Regions from separate parts of the Homo sapiens genome. Here all the other regions are linked to region 1. The links are contacts of gene promoters, found by promoter capture Hi-C in blood cells and fetal thymus (Javierre and others, 2016). All regions are on one chromosome and are shown on one strand. Each heading gives the region's core, a stretch centred on a gene start or on the middle of the fragment in contact. The rest is flanking DNA. Distances are from core to core; before and after follow the strand shown.

What was found. Contacts are between HindIII fragments. The CHiCAGO score rates a contact against its expected background, and 5 or more counts as called.
Region 2: a fragment that was not itself captured here is called in contact with the fragment with the promoter of E2F3 in region 1 in 1 of 17 cell types (non-activated CD4 T cells); the score reaches 5.1 in non-activated CD4 T cells.
Region 3: a contact is called between the fragment with the promoter of RANBP9 here and the fragment with the promoter of E2F3 in region 1, in 1 of 17 cell types (total CD8 T cells). The highest score is 6.8, in total CD8 T cells.
Region 4: a contact is called between the fragment with the promoter of JARID2 here and the fragment with the promoter of E2F3 in region 1, in 1 of 17 cell types (naive CD8 T cells). The highest score is 6.8, in naive CD8 T cells.

The regions. Positions count from the first base shown.
Region 1 is chr6:20,400,540-20,403,289 of GRCh38, forward strand. It overlaps E2F3 (E2F transcription factor 3), which reads left to right and starts at 1,340. Exons shown (of 7, transcript NM_001949.5): 1 at 1,340-2,086. The coding sequence starts at 1,694. It overlaps LOC124901482, which reads right to left and starts at 2,233. Exons shown (of 3, transcript XM_047419652.1): 1 at 1,886-2,233; 2 at 1,730-1,841; 3 at 202-1,623. The coding sequence starts at 2,233. The coding sequence ends at 1,016. RefSeq lists silencers at 915-1,154, 2,005-2,474, 2,675-2,750 and an enhancer at 1,253-1,777. The HindIII fragment of the contact is 2,252 bases long and covers 158-2,409 here.
Region 2 is chr6:12,006,667-12,009,416 of GRCh38, forward strand. It overlaps a transcript of HIVEP1 not described here. Among named protein-coding and RNA genes, the nearest start is that of HIVEP1, 4.3 kb to the right of the region's middle. RefSeq lists a silencer at 2,504-2,623. The HindIII fragment of the contact is 199 bases long and covers 1,294-1,492 here.
Region 3 is chr6:13,710,517-13,713,266 of GRCh38, forward strand. RANBP9 (RAN binding protein 9) reads right to left here and starts at 1,319. Exons shown (of 14, transcript NM_005493.3): 1 at 419-1,319. The coding sequence starts at 989. LOC124901264 (a long non-coding RNA gene) reads right to left here and starts at 2,238. Exons shown (of 2, transcript XR_007059462.1): 1 at 2,167-2,238; 2 at 1,836-2,025. RefSeq lists silencers at 264-383, 644-693, 774-893, 1,054-1,823. The HindIII fragment of the contact is 8,985 bases long and covers 1-2,750 here.
Region 4 is chr6:15,244,720-15,247,469 of GRCh38, forward strand. JARID2 (jumonji and AT-rich interaction domain containing 2) reads left to right here and starts at 1,350. Exons shown (of 18, transcript NM_004973.4): 1 at 1,350-1,865. The coding sequence starts at 1,821. JARID2-DT (JARID2 divergent transcript) reads right to left here and starts at 655. Exons shown (of 1, transcript NR_187237.1): 1 at 1-655. RefSeq lists silencers at 1-287, 298-557 and enhancers at 1,168-1,217, 1,328-1,427. The HindIII fragment of the contact is 5,356 bases long and covers 1-2,750 here.

The sequences.
Region 1 (2,750 bases), core at 90-2,589:
CTTGTGAAAGGGCTCAAGGTGTTGCAATCCTCATCACCTATGAGCACCAATTCTGCAGCTGTTTTGCACGTAACTATAAATTATGATCTAGTCTCTACATACATAACTTCCCCCACATTCCTGCAGGGGTCTCTTTTCCTGCTCAATCTCAGGAGCAAGCTTTAATTTTAAGACCCATGAATACTTGAACAAATTCAGGAGTCAGTTTGACACATCATTTTATATTTTTCTGATGACAATTTCTAGTTTACTTTTTAAAAAAAGACACTATTTTAAAAATACTTTGGGATAGGTTTGAGTCGTTGTGTTTGCTTCCAGTCAGAGAACTTCCTACAAAACTGAAGATATAAAGTGCTGATGCCTGGGCGTGCCTGCGTTCGTTGGGGGCACGACGTCATCGTGGGAAGCGTGTACTTTTTCGGATTACTGCTTGGCGGATTAGAAACCCGTAGATCAGTTCTAGGTTAGCCCTGATTAACTGCCCTGGGTGTTTCTGGGCCAGAGGGAATGTCTGCTGGATTCAAACCAATATCCGTTGTAAGACAAAAGAGTTAATTTGTACTTTACCCCTATCCAGGCTAATAATGAAGGTACCGGGAATGATCTGGAATGTTAACTGGTGCCCGCAATCGCGTCTGCTGAACCTTCTGCCCCCACGATTCTGTCTGCCCACATGCTTCTGTCTATCAGCCCCGGCCTCGGGATCAGCTCTCGCCGCGTCATTGGTTGGATTTCAGGAAGGGAGAAGCCCACGATTTAAAGGGCTCCTTTTGCACCTGCCAGACATCGTCCGCATGGTCCAACTTGCCTTTGGCACGTATCTGGAAAAATCTCCTGCGCTGTTCGTTTATTGCACTGACTGGTCAAAGGAAAGAGTGTTCCCTTAGTCACCTTGACAATTTCCAAAAGCGAAACTTGGGCTCTAGACTAGATCTACACTGAGTCTGCGGGGCGCGGAGTCCCTGCCCAGGTCAGTAGCGCCGGCCCGGCGGGCGGGCGGGGACAGGGGCGGAGCCTAGGCCAGGCGTGGTCTTCCGTGGGAGAGAAGGAAATTCTTTGCCCCACCCCCTAAAAACTGCTCTTCTGCCAGCCAATCAAGGAGGCCTATGCAAATAGGGTCCCTGTCGCCCCGGTAACCATGATGCACGGCAGCCAATGGAAACCAGCAAGTCGCGGCCCTGCTCCATGATTGGGACTGAAGTAAGGAGGTAGCGGCCCAATGGGCTGTGGGAACGGTCCTCGGCGGGTTGAGGGGCGGGGATATGCAAATATGGTTTGAAAAGCCGGCGGGAAATCCGAGTTTCGCGGGAGGACCTTGGCGCGTAAACCGTATCCCTTCATTCATTGTCAGCAGCAGCTTCCTGGAGCCATTTTTCAGCTGCCGGCCGCAGCACCCGGGCTGCCGCCGCCGCCTCGCAATCCGTTGCATCGGCCGCCCCCGACGCCTCCATCCCCGCTTGGGGCCCGATATCCGTGCGGCCGGGACCCTCCTCTCTCCAGAGCCCCGATTATTTTTGGCCCCCGGGGCCTGTGCGGTGCGGAAAAATAAAAAGAAAAGAGAGAGAGGGGGCTCGGAAGCGCCGGGCGGGGAGGAGAGAAGGAGGAGAGACTTGGAAACTCCGACTGCAAATAATAAAGAAATTGAAAACAATACATTAATATACCATAACACTAAAAAGAGCAGGAGCGAGAGATGAGAAAGGGAATCCAGCCCGCTCTGGAGCAGTACCTGGTGACCGCCGGGGGTGGGGAGGGGGCGGCTGTCGTCGCCGCCGCCGCTGCAGCCTCCATGGACAAAAGGGCACTGCTAGCCAGCCCCGGCTTCGCCGCCGCCGCCGCCGCTGCCGCCGCCCCGGGCGCGTACATCCAGATCCTCACCACGAACACTTCCACCACCTCCTGTTCCTCCTCCCTCCAAAGCGGCGCCGTAGCCGCCGGCCCCCTCCTCCCCAGTGCCCCCGGCGCGGAGCAGACCGCCGGCAGCCTCCTCTACACCACGCCGCACGGACCCTCCAGCAGAGCCGGGCTGCTGCAGCAGCCACCAGCGCTGGGACGCGGCGGCAGCGGCGGCGGCGGCGGCCCTCCGGTAATACCCTCCCTCCCCACCGTCCCCAGCCCCGGCGGGAGGTGGGCTCGCACCGCGCGGGGTCGTGGGCGCGCTGCGGGCCGCTCGGGGAGAGCACTGGGCCGAGCATCGTGGGCCTCGGGGGCTGCCCCTCCAACGAGGGTTCATTGTTAGACCTGAGTGCTCTTCCCGGCGCCAGGAGGGTCGGGGGGCTCGGCCAGGCGCGCGGGGCGGCGGGGATTGCCTTGGCGCGAACCACATCAAACACTCCAAAACTTTTCGCGGCCCCCCCTTCTTTTCCTGCACTTTTCCCTACCCCCACTCTCCCTTCCCCTCCAACTCGAAGCTTCCTCTTTCTCGGGCGTAGGAAGGGGTCACGCCCCGGATGGAGAAGGGGGTGGGGGAGGGAGTAGTGAACTGGGGTGTGGGGGGCTCTGAGGGGTTGAAACCGGGGGACTGTTGGGGTGCTAGCCCCCAGTCGGCCTTGGAGGCTCGTTGGCGGCCGGGGGTCCCTGCGGCGTGCTCGGAGCGCAGGGGATCGGCGGGGCTGCGCTTGACACATTTTAGGATCTGTAACTCCCGGCAACAAAGGGGCTGGGGGAGGTGGAGGGGAGTCGGGCGTGGGGGAGGTGGGGCTGGAAGCCGGGTGCGGACTGGGGCGTGGGCTGTCTGGGGTGAGGGGCTC
Region 2 (2,750 bases), core at 143-2,642, 8.4 Mb before region 1:
AAAACTTTAAAAAATTCCCTTTTCTTATTCTCTCCATTGATGTAGAATATTATAAAGTTATTGAAATCTGGTTTTCACAAAATATAATCTTTAAACTTTGAGCATCTGAATATTTTCTGGATCCCCATCATAGTTCTATCATTTACCAGCTCTGTAGCTTCCGGAAGACTATGTAGCATTTCTAAGCCTCTGTTTCTTCATCTACAGTGTGGGTTTATGGCGGGGACTAAATGAGTTTATATAGGAAAACCCGGCAAGTCGTAAGCGCTCAATAGCTGTTAATCACTACCACTACCATTATTACAACTGCTAATGTTACTGCAGTTTTTGTAACCAGCCTCCATATCGATCCTAAATCCATCAGTAACAATAACTTTCCTTAAAAAGACCATTCTCAGGCCAGATGTCTCCAAATAGCTACCAACTGTTTGTAATATCATGTCTTAATTCCTTCCAAATGATGACTGAGTAGGCTCTTCTCTGGTTGCCTGTTGCCTGCCCATTCTGTCTTCCTAGCTCATTACGAGAGAACCCACCCTTCCCAATGGCCCCGGGGCAATCCAGGTGTACATCTCTCATCTGAGCATGATTTTTTTTTTGAGACGGAGTCTCGCTCTGTGGCCCAGGCTGGAGTGCAGTGGCGTGATCTTGGCTCACTGCAAGCTCCGCCTCCCTGGTTCACGCCATTCTCCTGCCTCAGCCCCCCGAATAGCTGGGAATACAGGCGCCCGTCACCACGCCCAATTAATTTTTCTATTTTTAGTAGAGACAGGGTTTCACTGTGTTAGCCAGGATGGTCTCGATCTCCTGACCTTGTGATCCGCCCCCCTCGGCCTCCCACAGTGCTGGGATTACAAGCGTGAGCCACTGCGCCCGGCCCTGAGTATAATTATTAATACCTTCCCTTTCACTCTCAAGTGTCCTGGCATGGGTGTTACTTGTTTCCCATTTGCTTAGACTTTCTGCTCTCGGTGGAAAAACCATCACACACAGTTCACTTGCTCTCACCTTCAAGTTATTTCCCTCCTCTAGAATGCTGTACTTCCACCACTGCCAAATCGTGAACTTTCTCTCCTTCAATATCCCACTGAGAACTCACCCCCAGGATGGGACTCTGCTCACCCCGTCCTCTACTCAAGCAGAAGCCTCTCAGCGATCATGTAAATAACTGTATAACTTTAATTGGCTCTGTTTATAAGCCTCTTATATCTTTTTTTCCCTCTAGGTATTTTTCCATGTGTTTATCCTGTCTCCATTAATTTGTAATCTTCCAGAGGGCAAGGCCTGAACACAAGCTTCTGTTGGTGTAAAGTGGAGGCACAGGTAAGGCTGATTGCTAGACACTGCCGTCCTTCTTTATTAGTAATCTGTTAAAAAAAAAAAAATTCTTTGTTGTAGTGTTTTGTTAGTGATGGTCCCGAGACTGCTAACCTAATGAAAAACTATATCCAGTGTCTGCTAGTGTCCAGACAAAAGAAAATCAACAGTTACAAGCTTTTCATAACGTGAGGGGAAAGTGTGCGGATATTTTGACCCATAAGGGAATTTATGGTGTATGGAAAGCATGTTATAGAATTTGTTGCCTTTAGATTTTTATTCTTGTCTTTTCAAGGCTGCAGGACTGTCTCAGAAGGGAAATAATATTTACCTTCCAAACTGAGATCTAAAACCCGAACAAAGCCTCAGGAAACATACTCCACCACCATCTTACAAGTTTGTGCTACGGGTGGAGGGAAAATGAATCTAATGTAGGAGGCCTCCCGCTGTGCGTCTAGCAGGAAAGACCATACGGTGCAAGTCTCCAGGATCACTAGAGGGGTGGATTGTTCATTTCAGTCCAGGTAGCAACAGGAAGCCCGTGCAAATGTTCCTCTCTCACTGCGGGGCTAAGGAGTGTGGGTCCTTTCCCGCGACTACCTGCTTGCCTCTCTCAGAACCTGCAAGTGAAGTGCGGAAGATCTGTCTATCTTCTCGGCGGCGCAGAGCCCAAGGTAGAAACCGATGGAGGCGGTGCACTAGATAACATCAAAGCCCCGGGCAGGGGCCAGAAAGGGGGGCACAGGCAGCCCGGGGAATGAAGCGCCTCCCTCTAGCATTTCCTCTCACGCCCACTTCCAACCTAGGAGGCTTTTGGTTTCTGCTTTTTTGTTTTTAAAATTAAAAGTTAAACCCAGGAAGCTTTGGATCAGACTTTTGTGTTGCAGTTCGGGTAAGTTTTTCTCTCGGTTCTTTTGTCTGGCGCCTGGCTTGGGAAGAGCCTGGGCGTGGGGCAGAGTTGGCAGGGCGTGCGGGGAAGGTTTTGTCGCCGGGTTGCCCAGAGGAGGAGGGGATTCGGCCGGTGGATGGGAAAGCCCAGCGCGCGCGGAGGGCGGAGGGCGGAGGGCCGAGGGGAGGGACGAGCGGCGTGACCCGGCGGCCGGCGGGGAGGAACCTCCGGGATCTCCGCGTGGCGGTGGCGGCGGCGGCGGCGGCGGCGGCGCTGCCGGGCCGCGCGCTGGGCGGAGGGCCGGGGCCGCGGGGCCGCGCCAGGGGGGTGCCTGAGCCGGGCCCGGCCGGGCGGCCGCGTGGGAACCCGAGCCGTGGACGCAGCGGCGGGGGCGGGCAGGGTGGCGCGGGGCCCAGTGGACGCGGCTCCGGGGTGGACTTTGTGCCCTCTCCAAACTGTTCGCCAAGAAAAACGTGTGTTGAGCTTTTCAGTGACACTATCCTCCCTCGAACCCCACTTTCCCCAAGGGGGGCTCCAGAAGCGT
Region 3 (2,750 bases), core at 69-2,568, 6.7 Mb before region 1:
TCCCCCCTTGTAAGAGGAGAACGCCTGACCCACCACCTGGAGAACAATGTAACCCAACTCCGAGTCCATGGATTCCTCTACCCAAGCCCCAAGATTTATCTCCCAGGGAAATCAGAAAGCCAGTTCTGTCCTGTCATCCCGGATTCCCTCAAGGTGTCCTGCTCCTGGTCTAGGATTACCAGCTCCTTTCTACCCTGGGGCATTCTACTCACCTTCCTTTTCCAAGAATCTCGCCCCTCACCCTCGGACCCTTCACCGCGACCCCCGCGCCCACCCGGAGCAGCACAACAGGCGGCGAGTGGCCTCCGAGGGCAGAGCCCGCGAGGGCGGGGGTCGGGGGCGGGTCGAGAGCGGCGCAGCGGCGGCCGGCCACGTCGGGTCAGTGCCCCACTCCCACCGCAGGACACACGCCCAGTACCTTTGTAGTGCACCCGCAGGTTGTTCTGAGAGAGGCCGATGTAGCTGAACTTGTCCTTCGGGCTCCAGGACCGAGGCAGCGGCGTCTCTTGTTCGTCCACGGCCGGGTAGAGACGCTTCAGCCGCCGCTGCAACTCCTTCTCCTGCTCGTTCAGGGCCGAGTCCCCGTGAGGGAAGGGGGCCGCGGCGCTGCTGCCCGCCACCAGAGCTGGGGTCGGGGCTCCTCCAGCCGGGCCGGGGCCCGCTGCAAGGCCCGGGGGAGCGGGCGGCCCGCTGGCGGGGGCAGCCGCTGAGGCAGGGGGAGGCGGGGGCGGCGGCGGGGGCGGCGGGGCCGCGGTGGCCGGGGGCGGCGGCGGCGGAGGGTGGAGGAGCAGGGCGGCCGCCGCGGCCCCTAAGCCTTCGCCGCCCGCACCGCCGCCGGGCGAGCCGGCCGGAGAAGAGCCGGCGCTGACGGCCGGGGGCGCCGGCAGGACGACTCCGGAGACTGGGGCCAAGGCCGCCGGCGGTGGCGGCGACAGCTGCTGCTGCTGTTGCTGCTGCTGCGGCGGCGGCGGCGGCGGCTGCCCGGACATCCCGGCCGCGACTCAGCCTGCGGCCACCTCCACCTCTTCTCTCCTTCCTCCTCTGCTTCCCGGGGGCGCTGTCGCTGCGGCCGCCGGCACCAGGCGCCCAGTCCGCCCGCCCCGGAAGCAGGCGGCGGGCCGCGCGCCCAGGGAGACCGCGGCGGTTGAGGAGCTCGGAGACGCGGGAGTAGGCGGCGGGCCCGGGAGGCCGGGAGAGAACGTTGGCCGGAGCGCGGGCGCGCGGCCCGGGGACGAGGCGCCGAGGGCGGGGGCGACGCGGGAGCGCGGGAGGGGAAGGCGCGCTGGCGGCCGCCGCGGCCGCTGCTCTCGCGGCTGTTTCCCGGCGGGCGGGCCGGGCCGGCGCGAGACGCTGCGCGCGGGCGGCGCTAGGCGAGGGGGCGGGACGGAGGCGCGAGAGAGGCGCGAGCGGTGCGAGGGGGCGGGCCGCGGGGCTCCCGGCTGTGCGCCGCGAGGCGTCCTCCCGGGCCCGCCAGTCGCTCGTGGGCAGGATCGCTGGGCTCCCGGCGCCGCAGGTCCCTTCGGAGGTGTCCGCCTCCTCTCCCTTGGCGGCCGCCGTCGCCCCCCTCGCCGGCGAATCCCCTCCCACTTGACTTCTTTTTGTTGTCGTCGCCCCACCTCCCCACCGTAGGGCTCCTCGGAGCCGAGGCGCCGCTTCTCGTCCAGGCGAGAGTAATCGAGCCCCGCTGGGGCCGCCGCGAGCCCAGGCCCCGGGGCGCTCTAGGACCCGTCGGCCCGGGGCGTGCGGAGCGGCTCAGGCTCCCCGCGCAGTGCTGCTAGCTCTCGCCTCAGTCCCGTTCCCGTTTGCCGCCTCCCTCCAAAGAGGAACGCATTGCCTTTGGTACTTCAGTGTTTAATTCCGTAGCATTGACCATATGGGCAGTAGAAACCACTTCTGAAGGCAGTCTCCCACTTAGAATAGTGACTGTTTCATTAATTAATTTTACGAGGACTCACAGTGAACTTAACAGTGGTAGAAGATGTCATTAATAAAGACCGGCATATCTTCAAAAAGCAGGAGCAGGCACTGTATGAATACAAGATTATAGTGTGTGTTTAGGAAGGGCTTCTAGAGACGTCAGAACATTTTATAGACTCGTTAATTTTCATAACAGGGTTCTTAGGTAACAGAAAATTATGCCCATTTTTAAAACAAGGAAATATTTACCGAGATCAGCAGAGTCAAAAATAGGACTTCCTACTTTGCAATTCCCAATAGAATGCTTCGTCGACTAATTTGGCACAACTTGCCAAGTGTTGCTCTCTGACCCATCATAACATTACTACTTTGTTTTCACCACTTCCCTTTGTTTAGCTTATCCCTCCCTAGCTGGCAAAATCAGGCTTTGCATATGTAAATTGTGTGATGTAAATTCTGATATTTTGTTTGCTTCCAAAGATATGATGGTAATCATTTGGTCAAATAAGAAATGTTTTGCCGAAGAGAAAATTATTTCGTTTTGAAGAAGGTAGGCCAAAGGTGATTTAATTTAAGGCCAAGATTATCTGGCCAGAACAAATAACAGAGTCATTCGGCCTAATTTCTCCCTCAGTTACCCAGACAACTAGATGTTCTGTTGTACTTTTATTATTATTATTATTATTGTTTTGTCGCCCAGGCTGGAGTGCAGTTGTGTGGTCTCAGCTCACTACAACTTCCGCCTCCCGGGTTCAAGCGATTCTCCTGCCTCAGCCTCCCAAGTAGCTGGGACTACAGGCATGTGCTCACACCCAGCTAATTTTTGTACTTGT
Region 4 (2,750 bases), core at 100-2,599, 5.2 Mb before region 1:
CTTCACTCCTGGGCCACCAGCGACGTCCTCCAAGCGGGTCGAGCGGAGGCGCGTTCGCGACCCAGGGGCAGCGTGCCGAGCCCGGGCGTGGGGGGGCGTGGCCTTTCCACTCGGCGACCCCCGGCCACCGCCCACCCCGCGCGTGGGGGCGTGCGCGACTGCGGGGCGCGGAGAGGGGTGACCTCGGACTACCCTAGGCGCCCGCAGCACGCTCTGTACACAGACGCGAGGCGCTGTCCTGAGGTGACACCGGCTGCACGGCACAAGCAGCAGGCGCCGCCGATCAACTAGTTCGCACCGAGGATTCCTCTTGGTGCGTGGCCCAGTTTTCCTTAGGACGGGCTCCAACCCCTCCCTGACACCGCCCCCCTCACCGCCACGCTCCGAGGCCTTCCCCGGGGAAGCCTCGCGTCCCTCCCCCGCGGCTCCGGGCCGCACGCGCGCGATTCCTCGATTCCACAGGCGGTTCGCGCCGCGGGTGGGGGCGGGGCGCGCGGGGAGGGGGCTGGCGGCCGCCAGGGGAGGGGGGCCGGGGCCCGGGGGGCGGAGGAGGGCCGGCGTGGGGAGTTCCTCGCTCGCGGACCACACGCTCCGCGGGCCAATCCCGAGCCAGCCTCTAGCAGTGTCGCACGCGGGACACGTCCAAGCGTTTGTTGGCACGGCCAGTGAGGGGGAGGGGGCGAGGAGGAGGGAGGGGAGTTGAGTGACAGGCTTTGCGGGGCAGGCTGGGAATTGTAGTTCCCAGCTTCCGTGGCCATAGCCATTTTGTAGTCGGGGGACTACAACTTCCAGAAGATCAAGGGGACCATTCTAAGGTGCCCCGGGAATAGGCGGCTCTCCCCGGGGCCGGGCGTCCTGGGGCACTCCTACCCAGCAGCCCGGCTGCAGGTAGACGCGAAGGCAGTGGCGGGGGCTGGCGTGGGGCGGCCGTGGGGTGAGCGGCAGGCAGGGGAAAGGGGGTGAGGTGGAGCGACGGAGCGTGCCATGCATTGAGCTAGGGAGCCTCTCTCAATTCCACGCCTGGGCTCGGCGTGGGAGCGACGCCCGAGGGCTTGCCTGGGAGGGGTTCGTCGAGGTCGCTCGGGTGTCTGGTTGGCCAGGCTGCGGGGGTGCCCTGGACTGGGCCAGGGGCGGTCGGCACCAGGCTAAGCGGGCGCCTGGCGGCTGAGCGGTGGGAGTTTTCGGCTGGCGCCCGGCGGGGAATTATCCGAGGAGCCCTAACTTGTATAAAAGCAGAGTCCATTTAAAGTTGGGCTGGATAGCCTCTCTCTCATTGGTTAGGGGGCTTGGAAAAAAGAGACTCGGCGAGCCCTCGCTGTGGTGCTGCCGCCGCCGCCGCCGCCGCCGCTGGAGTTGACTCTTCTGCTCGCACTGCTGCTGCAGCACAAACGTGACTTCCAACATTTTTTATTTATCTTTCCCTTTTCTTTTCCAAGATGTAACTACGGATCAGACACTAAGGACCTTCACGTTTCGCTGATGTAGTTTTTGGAGGAAAAAGGGGGGGGAGTGAAGGGCGTCGGTTTTTTTTTGTGTGTGTGTGTATGTGTTTCGGGGGAAATTTTCCATTATGAGTGTTTTACTAAAGTGAATTTTTTTTTGTTTGCTTCGTTCGTCTTTGGCTCTTTTTTTTTCCTTCCCAATTTCGGATTTATTTCAAGGCGAATCTGGCTTTGGGGGAAGAGGAAGAAAAGTCGGATTACAAGATCAACCACCACCAACAACAATAAAAACCACCAGGATATTTTTTTGCAAATTTCTGACGGCTTTAAATTCATGAAGCAATTGTCCCCTTTTGCAATCAGCATTTGGATCTCAGAATGAGCAAGGAAAGACCCAAGAGGAATATCATTCAGAAGAAATACGTAAGTGCTCCTAACAACACATCCTTTGACTTGCAGTTTTAAGCAATGGCTGTGAATGTCAAGTTTATAGATAATTCTGCCTCTGAAGGGTTTTAAACACAGCGTCCGATAAGGCTGTTTCTTTTTTTTCTGAAAGAGGGCTTTTCAAGCAAAGTGGTGTCTGCCTAGTTTGGTTGAAAAAACAGACTGGTGTAGAGATACCTCAAGTGAATAAATTGACCTCGAATGACACAACCATAATCTACTTTTAGATGAAAGGCAAGGGATTTTGGTGGAGCTTGAGGTGGGGGGTGGCTGCGGTAATGTAACTAAACTGCATTCTCAAGCGGATTTGGCCCCGTATTGCACTTTGCATGCAAATGAGCCTGTGTTATTATTATTAATGTTATTTGGAAAAATCGTGTAACGCATGTGTGTTGGAAGCCCTTTAAGTTGCGATCGAGGGTCCGATTATGGCGATCTTCTCTTTGCACTGGCACATCAAATTTAATGTCTGTGGTCGTTTTGGCTTATCTGGTTTGCAACATAAACCAGTTGGGAATCATGTTACAGCGAATGCATTTGTTGGGATTGACTTTAATAATGAGGCTGGTTTTGTTTAAAAAATTCATGGTTTCCAGTTGTAGGGGAAAAGGACACACACTATGGCTAATGTTTTTAAGTGTGTACGTGAATGCATATGTAAGTAACTACAAATAATTTCTCCCTGTTAACTGGGCTTCTGAAATTGGGTGATTATTCCTAGATTTAAATGGCTTGGAATAGTTAAATTTGTTTTGTGCATAGTACAGCTACGTTTTGATTGGCATGGGGAGTGTTTTTGTTTTGTGTGTGGTGGCTTTTTTTTTTTTTTAAGTTTGAGGGGAGGGAGGAAAGGGGGACCGA